Regions from separate parts of the Homo sapiens genome. Here region 1 is linked to region 2. The links are contacts of gene promoters, found by promoter capture Hi-C in human tissues and cell types (Jung and others, 2019). All regions are on one chromosome and are shown on one strand. Each heading gives the region's core, a stretch centred on a gene start or on the middle of the fragment in contact. The rest is flanking DNA. Distances are from core to core; before and after follow the strand shown.

Region 1 (4,206 bases), core at 757-3,256, 1.1 Mb after region 2:
CCAGGGAATATTATTTATTGCACTCACAATAGCAGTCAAGCCAGCACACTGAAACAAAATAATTTATATTTTAGTAGTTAGATATGGTGACAAAGTGTAATATTGGAGATTTGATCTGACACTAAACATTTAAGTGCACTTTATGGTTTAGCTGTTGTATTGATAGAATTACAGGCAACTTAAGTGATTAAGTTTGTGACAGGTATAAGAAACAAATGGTAAATAATGATATAAAAAACATTAATAGTTTTAACAACTACAATTTTATTCACGGTGAATCATATTTCAGTTTTCTGACCCATATGCCACATCTTAATTCATTTTTATCATTCCATTTTGATGTAACCAAAATAGTAATACGAAGAATTTAGGGGAAGTTGGATATCGTATGTTAAGGGGTGTGTGTGTATGCATGCACAATATTAATACAATACATACAATAAATTATTGTAAGTAAAAATGGTCTAATGACATTACTCATTCTGAAAACTCTTTTATGAAACCATTTTGAATATTTCTCCAAATATGTTAGATTGCCCTTCAAAAAGACATTCTAATATTGTTCATATTTTTATTGCAAAGAGAAACAATTTAGGTAGATATATAATGTACACATACAGTTTTGTTGTAGACCAATTTTGTCCTCCCAAAATTGATATGTGAAGCATTAACCCACAAGTGGCTGTATTTGGAGACAGGGCCTTTAGGCAGGTTACTAAGGTTAAAGGAAATCGTAAGGGTGAATCCTAATCCAATAGGACATGCGTCCTTATAAAAAAAGAAAGAGACATCAGAGCTCTCTTTCTTCACCTGTGCACAGAGGAAAGGCCACATGAGGACACAGCAAGAAGGCAGCTGTCTGTCTGCCAGGAAGAAACCTCACCAGAAACTAACCATGCTAGTACCTTGATCTTGGACTTCTAGCCTCTGGAACTCAGAGAGAATAAATTGGTGTGGTTTCCCCTTCTCAATCTGTGGTATTATATAATAGCAATCCAAGCAGACTGAGACAGATTTTGGTACTAGGAGTGGGATGCTGCTGTAACAAGCACCTAAAAATGTGGCTTTGGGTTTGGGTGGGTGATGGGTATAGATTGGAAAATTTTGAAGTGCATTCTAAAATATGGTTAGATTCCCTTGAAGAGATTATTGGTAGAAATGTGAATGTTAAAGGTGATTCTGATGAGATTTCAAAAGGAAATAAGAGACGTGCTATGAGAAACTGAAGGAAAGATGACCCGTGTTATAAAGTGGCAAAGAACTTGGCTGAACTATGTTATAGTGTTTTGTGGAAAGTAGAACTTAAAAGCAAAGAAGTTATATATTTAGCTAATGAAATTTCTAAGCAAAGAGTTAAAGATATCGCCTGATTTCTCTTTATTGCTTATAGTAAAGTATAGGATAAGAAAAATAAATTAAATAAATTGTTAACCATAAGGAAACCAGAACTAAAAGATTTGGGAAAATCTCAGTTATCCATACTGCAAAAAAATGAAATATGTGTTTTAAAGAAAACTCCAAAGATGTGGCTGGATAACCACTCCCTAAGGTGGCTATCCATGGAGTTAATCAGCCATTTCAACAGAGGCAGGAAGAGTGATGGGATGATATAAGCACAGTCACTGTCAGTTTCACCAAGGGGAAACTAGTATCATGAGATACTAGGCCACCAATTATTATGGTTCCTATAGGTGTTCAATTACTTTAAAAGCTTTTTATTAAATATGAATGAATTACATTACTATGCATGGTGGAGAGTTGGTAGTTAACTACATTCTGCCATAGCTTTGTTAGGAATCAGCTTGGATTGTGAATTAGTGGGAATGTAAATTAGTTCAACCATTGTGGAAGACAGTGTGGCAATTCCTCAAAGAGCTAAAGACATAAATACCATTTGACACAGCAATCCCATTACTAGATATATACCCAAAGGAATATAAATTGTTGTATTATATAGACACATGTGTGCATAAGTTCATTGCAGCACTATTCACAAAAGCAAATACATGAAATCAATCTCAATGTCTATCAGTGATAGACTAGAAAAAAAATGTAGTACACATACATGGTAGAATACTAGGGAGCCATAAAAAAGAAGGATATCATGTTCTTTGCGGGGACATGGATGAGCTGGAGACCATTATCTTTAGCAAACCAACACAGGAACAGAAAACCAAATACCGCGTGTTCTCACTAAGTGGGAGCTAAATGATAAAAACACATGGAGGCATAGAGGGGGATAACACACACTGGGGACTACTGGAGACTGGAGGGTGGGAGGAGGGGGAGGATCAGGAAAAATAACTAATTGGTACTAGGCTTAATACTTGGGTGATGAAATAATCTGTACAACAACCCCCCATGACACAAGTTTATGTATGTAACAAACCTGCACTTTTACCCCTGAACTTAAAATAAAAGTTTAAAAAAATGAAGGGGAAAACATACACACACATGTACACACACACATACACACACACAAGAATCAGAAGTATTAAAATGAATGTGCTTATTTAAAAATACAGTAAGAAATTTCACTTTCTGTGCTTTGTAAATGTTAGCATATTTAATATTTTGAAATAGCTTTATTGGATGCTGATAATTTCTCCTAAGAAAGACCCTCAAAATTGTCATATTGTGCTGAAGTATGTCTTTTGCCCCCAAAAAAAAAAAAAAAACATGAAAATCACACACGACATACTCTGCATAAAACGTTATCTCGAAATAATTTTTTTTTTTTTGAGATGGAGTTTCGCTCTTGTTGCCCAGGCTGGAGTGCAATGGCGCGATCTCGGCTCACTGCAACCTCCACCTCCCAGGTTCAAGCAATTCTCCTGCCTCAGCCTCCCGAGTAGCTGGGATTACAGGCATGCACCACCATGCCCGGTTAATTTTGTATTTTTAGTAGACCTGGGGTTTCTCCATGTTGAGGCCGGTCTCGAACTCCTGACCTCAAGTGATCTGCCCGCCTCAGCCTCCCAAAGTGCTGGGATTACAGGCGTGAGCCACTGCGCCCGGCCCCAGATAAATTTGTAAAGCTGCTTTATGATTAATCCGGAGTAAAACTTGCCAGTTCTACTGACCACCATAGGCATTCAAGATCCCACGGCACTCTTTGAAAAACCAAAGGTATTAACTCTGCAGTTCTGGCCTTACTCCAAATCTATTAATTAAATTCTTCCTACCTTATATTCCCCACATATTTCCAATTAGAAAAATTATTTTTTCATTTCTTTTTGATATTGCTTTTGGGAAGTAGTTCTGGCACAAATCTCCTGTATATGTTCTCCCTTGGAATTTCACTTTTCAACACAGTTTGAAATTTGGAATCGATGACATCTTTATATTTAAGGTGTGCCACCATCTAATAAACTGTGGCAACGTGCACTATTGGACGTTGCATAGAAAATTTCGTTCAGCCAATATGTGGTATCTTGCTTATATTTTTTCATTTCTTAATCATAAAACATCATGAGAGAAGAGGAAATGGCAACTTGCAAGATATTTTAATCTACAGAGAGGGATTTCCTGACAAGAAAGCAGAAGTTTATGCTAATCAAAACAGAGCTAGGAATTGCCAAGCTTTCGTTCTTTCCTTTTTTTTTTTTTTTTTAACTTATAAACCTCACAGCTGGCTATGTGGTGAGACTAACAGATGGGATGAATTATATATTTAAAGAGCCTTTGACATCACATCAAAAACCTTTTGTTCTGTAAATGGAACTTTACTATTTTTCCACTTATTACAGTCATAACATTCTTGCATTTCATTAAAATGTTATAGGTAAACCATAAAATACCTATTAAAGAGTTTAAGTTGTCCATTACAAATGACAAAGCAATATCAAAGAGAATGCTAAAAATTATATTTTAAACACCAATTTATTTTTTACTCTGTGAAAAATATGTTATCCTTCTGCACTAGTTAAAAATTATCTTTTTTTTTCATTTTCTGACACTAAGAATATTTCTAAGTCAATGTTTATTTCAGGAATCTAATCACTGTCAAAGAAGCATGGTACAGAAGCCAATGCCAGCAGAAGCTTCCTGGCTTTCTGACAGACTTTTTATTTGCAAGTGGAGTTTGATCATGTAAAGACAGAACTTCAGATGGATTAATCCATTAATTCATGAAATATTATCTGAGTACCTATTATGTAATATACATGGATCTGAAAGTAAAATAGTCCTTAACCTCAAGAACTT
Region 2 (4,739 bases), core at 272-2,771:
ATTAGGAAGCTTCAGCAGAGCGAAGCCTGCCAAGCGTTCGCCGTCAGAATCTGAAGGAACCCGAGCGAGCAAGAAGAGTGCCTGACCCACTCCACAGAAGCCTGTCCAGAAATGGAGGAGTCAGCGCCCACTGAAGTCGGTTCCGCCCTCGGCTCGCCTACATGGAGCCTGACCAGCCTCAGTCATGCCCACTCCGGCCTGGGAGACCCGCAAAGTGTTCTTTTTCTCAACTCCCCTGTACTACCTTGAAGCTTAGGGAAGCAAAGAGAGGGGCATATCTGGACTGCAAAACCAATGTCTTTTGCCGCCTAGGAGAGAAGGGAATGAGAGAGAGAGAGAGATAGATAGATAGAGAGAGAGAGAGAGAGAGAGAGAGAGAGAGAGAGAGAGAGAGAGAAATTCTATTGAAACCCAGCTCCTCTAGAATCTGTGTGACCTGGTCTTCAACGGGAGACCAGTGCGACCTCATGGCACCTTTGCCAGGAATCAGCGATTCCCCTGCAGTCACCATTTGATTTATTGCTTTCTCGCTCATTCTTTCTCATAAAGTTATTTCTTCCTCATCCTAGTAAGACTTTTTTCTTTAATGATGACAAAGCTTCTGTTTCAGTGTTTCCCCTAGGATTGGTGCTCTTTCAAAACAGTGAACCCAGAAAACCATCCCGTTTAATATTTCTCAAAATCCTCGCAGCTCCAATGTAAGCGCAAGCATGCAAAGGTTTCCTGCTACACCTGCACTTTCTGCCCATCCCAGAACCACCCCTCACCCCCGGGCCTGCAACAGTTCCCCTTGTTTCTCTGGATAGAGGTGGGTGGTATTAGGGGTCTAGGGCAGTAGGAGGTGAGGGGCTGAGGAGGCGCGCTAGGGTAGGCTGGTCTGTGCTGGATACGCGTGTTCTTCTGCGGAGTTAAAGGGTCGGGGACGGGGGTTCTGGACTTACCAGAGCAATTCCAGCCGGTGGGCGTTTGGCAGTCACTTAAGGAGGTAGGGAAAGCAGCGAGCTTCACCGGGCGGGCTACGATGAGTAGCATGACGGGCAGCAGCAGCAGCCAGCAAAAGCCCTCGCAAAGTGTCCAGCTGCTGCACTGCCGCGGGGACTCCCACAGCACCATGACTAGTTCGTGCAACTCTGCAGCAGCAAACGGCTTCCGAGGAACACAGGATCGCGGGGGCCGGGCAGCGGGCTACTGAGCATCCCGCGGACGGCGGCAGCAGAGGCGGCGGCGGTGGCAGTGGCACCCGGCGGGGAAGCAGCAGCCAAACCCGCGCATGATCTCGAGAGTTTCAGCAACATCCAGGGACTGGGCTCAGCCCCGGAGCGAGAGGGTCGTCCGCTGAGAAGCTGCGCCGGAGACGCGGGAAGCTGCTGCCATAAGGAGGGAGCTCTGGGAAGCCGGAGGACAGGAGGAGACGGGAGTCCAGGGGCAGACGAGTGGAGCCCGAGGAGGCAGGGTGGAGGGAGAGTCAAGGCGCCCCGCAGCCCGGCAGCCGCCTCTCGAGCTCTGCCGCCCGCATCCCTCTGGCGTTTGGGAAGCAGCAGGTCCTCAGCCCGCCCGGGGTCACGTGGGAAGAGGCAGTCGGGCTCTGATTGGTGGAGCAGGATGCAGGTCCCGGGAGGGAGGGGTCGACGAGGAGGTGCAAGGATGCAAGGAGGAGGCGGCCGCGGAAGCCACAGATGGGCTCGCTCGCCAGGCGCTGGCCCGAGTGGGGCTAGGCGGGGATGGCTCAAATGAGAAGCTCGGGCTTCAGGGTGGGCTACCCGCACACTCATATACCATTCGCCTCACTCTCCGCTCCAGGACGCCCCCTACCGAAGGCGGGGTCCGGACTAGCGCCCCTCTTCCGCGCGTGACCCCGGGCCGCGAGTGCGGGCCGCGGCTGGGTGGCGTCTCTCCGAGCTGGAGATGGTGGGGGCGGAGGTGTCAGAGGAGCAGCAGCAGCAGGGCAGAGAGGGGCGAGTCGGCGCGGGAGAGGGCGTCCTGCTGGCGACCGGCGCTCCAGCGTGCGGGAGCGCGCCGCCTAGGCTGTAGGGGGATGCAGGCTGGGAATGTCGCGGCGGAGAGGCCAGGGACGTTTCTCTAGGGATTTACAGGAAAGAGGGTGAGAGGCGATGGTGTTAGAACCGCTCTTGCCGACCTGGAAGCAACAGCAGCATCTCCCACAAGAGCGTGCAACCCCAAGGCTGCTCGCCGAGGCAGCTCAGCCATCCCGGCAGGCGCTCTCCTTCCTTCTCTCTTCTCCCCTCTCTCCTCCCAGGCCCCCCGCAGCTCCGACCCAGCCCAAGCGTTCGCAGGTTTGAATCCCTCTCCTCATCACCCGCTCCTCTCCAGCCCGTAGCCTATTAGTGTGTCCACCTGGGAGGTGCGGTCAGATGTGTTTGGAAGGTCAGATTGGTCGGGACAAGTGGTCTGAGAGAAAGAGAAAGGCTCCTCTGCATACGCCGCGGGTGGGTTGCCGGGAGCATCGGCCGGGCAGCGGCGTCCGGGAAGGGGAGAGCGGGCTCCATTTGTTGGCCCAGGCAGTGACCCTGCGTTCCTTACTCGGGTCTTTGCCGGATGGCCGGTGACCTGGGGCGACGAGAGAAGGTCTAACTCGGCAGGAGTCTCTGGCTCTGCGCGTTTCTTTCATTCTCTCCAGCGGGAAGGGCAAACGGCATAGCGGGACCCGCCTTCCGTCTGCTGCATTCTTCAGGCAGTTAGACACACTCTTTAGCCTAATGGAATTTTAGTCGCCAGTAACGGGACCAAGAGCTTTCGGGGACAAGGGTGGAGAGGAACATCTTTCTTCCATGACCGGGGTCACTATTGCAGTCTCAGTGTTTTGGATGCCCCATAGGGAAGAGCTTTCTTTTTGGTGTGTGATTATTCAGTGATTCCTGTTTTTGTTTTTGTTTATCTTCTCTCCGCTCTCCTTCTCTATTCCTCTCTGTTATCCCTCCTCCTTCTTCTCCCCCCGCTTTCAAAAGCCTCCGGATCCTCCCTTTTTCTATTTAAATTCTCCTTTTGTGCCCCTCTTTCTGTGTCCCCTGAATTTAGGAGAGCATTTGATAACATTTAACAGGCAATTAGTGTCCATTCCCAATCACTTAAAAGAGGCATTCATATACTTTGAAAACGGGACTATCTATCCTTTGCAGACACCAGCAGAAAAACAAATTGTACCCGAGTAATCCTTTTAAGTACTTTAACCTCCAACCTCCTCCCACTTCCTTGCTTTTTAACTTCTCCTTTGAGAGATGTGATCGTGCAGCACCTCAGTGCCTCAACGAAATCTTTTTTTTTTTCCTGTGTGAAATCCATCCCTTTATCTTACATCTCCGCCTCCGTCCGAGACTGTCCCTCTCCCCTCCCACCTCCAAAGATTTCTGAATCTCAGTGTCTCTCACTCCTGGCAATTAAGCAGCAGATCCCAGCATTCTAGTCGGTGGCATCTCGCTCCTCACCGACGAAGACTCCATTAAAACAGATCAATTAGACCAGACGTTGGAGGCATCAGAAAATCGGCTTCTAGACAGAGCAGCTAAATTCTTTAAGGAAACAGAATACCCATTAGATAGAGCTGCCAACTAATATTGCAAAACAAGGAATTAGAAATTTCTTTCGCTACAGGCTTTCAGCAGAGAAGGCAACATAAATATAGATCAAGATTTAACAACTCTACAGCAGAGAATGAGAACATGTCATTTTCCATAGCAAGGCTGGTGTGGTAACTAATCAGGCTTATGAAAATAAGTCATGCTTGAAACTAAAGGCAAAGTCCTTAAAAGTGTTTATGCAGTAATTATGATAATGAAACAGGACCTGCTAGGATTTCAGAGTTTGGCTATGTAAGTAGAATTTTAGAGAACCTCTTAGCAGAGGAAAACTGTTTTTGAATTTTCTGCTAAGTAAATTTTTGGCATACTTTCTAATAATATATGCTCTTCCTAAGACGTTTTGCCAAAAGTAAGTTAAAACTCCAAAGGAGTTAATTACTGGTTGTAACTGGTTAACAAATGCGGTTGCTTCCACAGAGGTCCTTTAAATTATTAAACAGTTTGAAGCAAAGCCTTTTCAATGGGAATGCTGCAATTTTGTTGCACTTACTCTGTACTTAGTGTTATAGTGCCACCAAGAAACAAATTCTGAAACTGGCAAGCACCACCAAGTGGCAGAAGAACATCACTCATTGAGCAGAGAATTGTATTACTGAATATGTAAATAAAAATATATACATTATTTAGACTTGTCACTAGGTACCAAAGAAGTAGACAAGACTGCATTAGCAATTGGATTAGTGCTTTAACTTTTCCCCAGCAAGGCAAAATCAGTTTACTTATTAGAATTAAATTTAAGTCTATGAACTGTACTTTGCATTGCGTATCATATGATTGCTAGTAATATGACACAATCATACCATGTATTTGCAAAATTCTTATTTTAAAATACTATACCATATTTACTTTCAATCTTCTTGAGCTAGAACACTTTATTTGTGGCATATACACTCTAGAATTGATGCAGAGGAGCAGAGTCCAGTTGTTAGATTTTTCAGTAGAAATAGTGCAGATATATTTTCTCCAGAAAACTTAAGAACATTTTTTTTTCTCATGGAAAGAACATCATTATAAAGTGTGAGATTACTCACAGCTTAAGTAGGGGGCTTGGGAGTTATTCTCCAACAAGAATAGTTTAAGATAAATAAATGAACCTGGGAAAATAAGATACACTGCCAATCAGAACTCTTATCTCCTTCATGA

The links. Contacts are between HindIII fragments. The study calls those that stand out against the background at their distance.
Region 1: a contact is called between a fragment that was not itself captured here and the fragment with the promoter of TMEFF2 in region 2, in 1 of the 25 tissues and cell types used here (dorsolateral prefrontal cortex).

The regions. Positions count from the first base shown.
Region 1 is chr2:193,328,305-193,332,510 of GRCh38, forward strand. No RefSeq gene overlaps it. Among named protein-coding and RNA genes, the nearest start is that of PCGEM1, 580 kb to the left of the region's middle. The HindIII fragment of the contact is 3,612 bases long and covers 201-3,812 here.
Region 2 is chr2:192,193,412-192,198,150 of GRCh38, forward strand. TMEFF2 (transmembrane protein with EGF like and two follistatin like domains 2) reads right to left here and starts at 1,522. Exons shown (of 10, transcript NM_016192.4): 1 at 942-1,522. The coding sequence starts at 1,113. RefSeq lists an enhancer at 1,468-2,043. The HindIII fragment of the contact is 5,375 bases long and covers 425-4,739 here.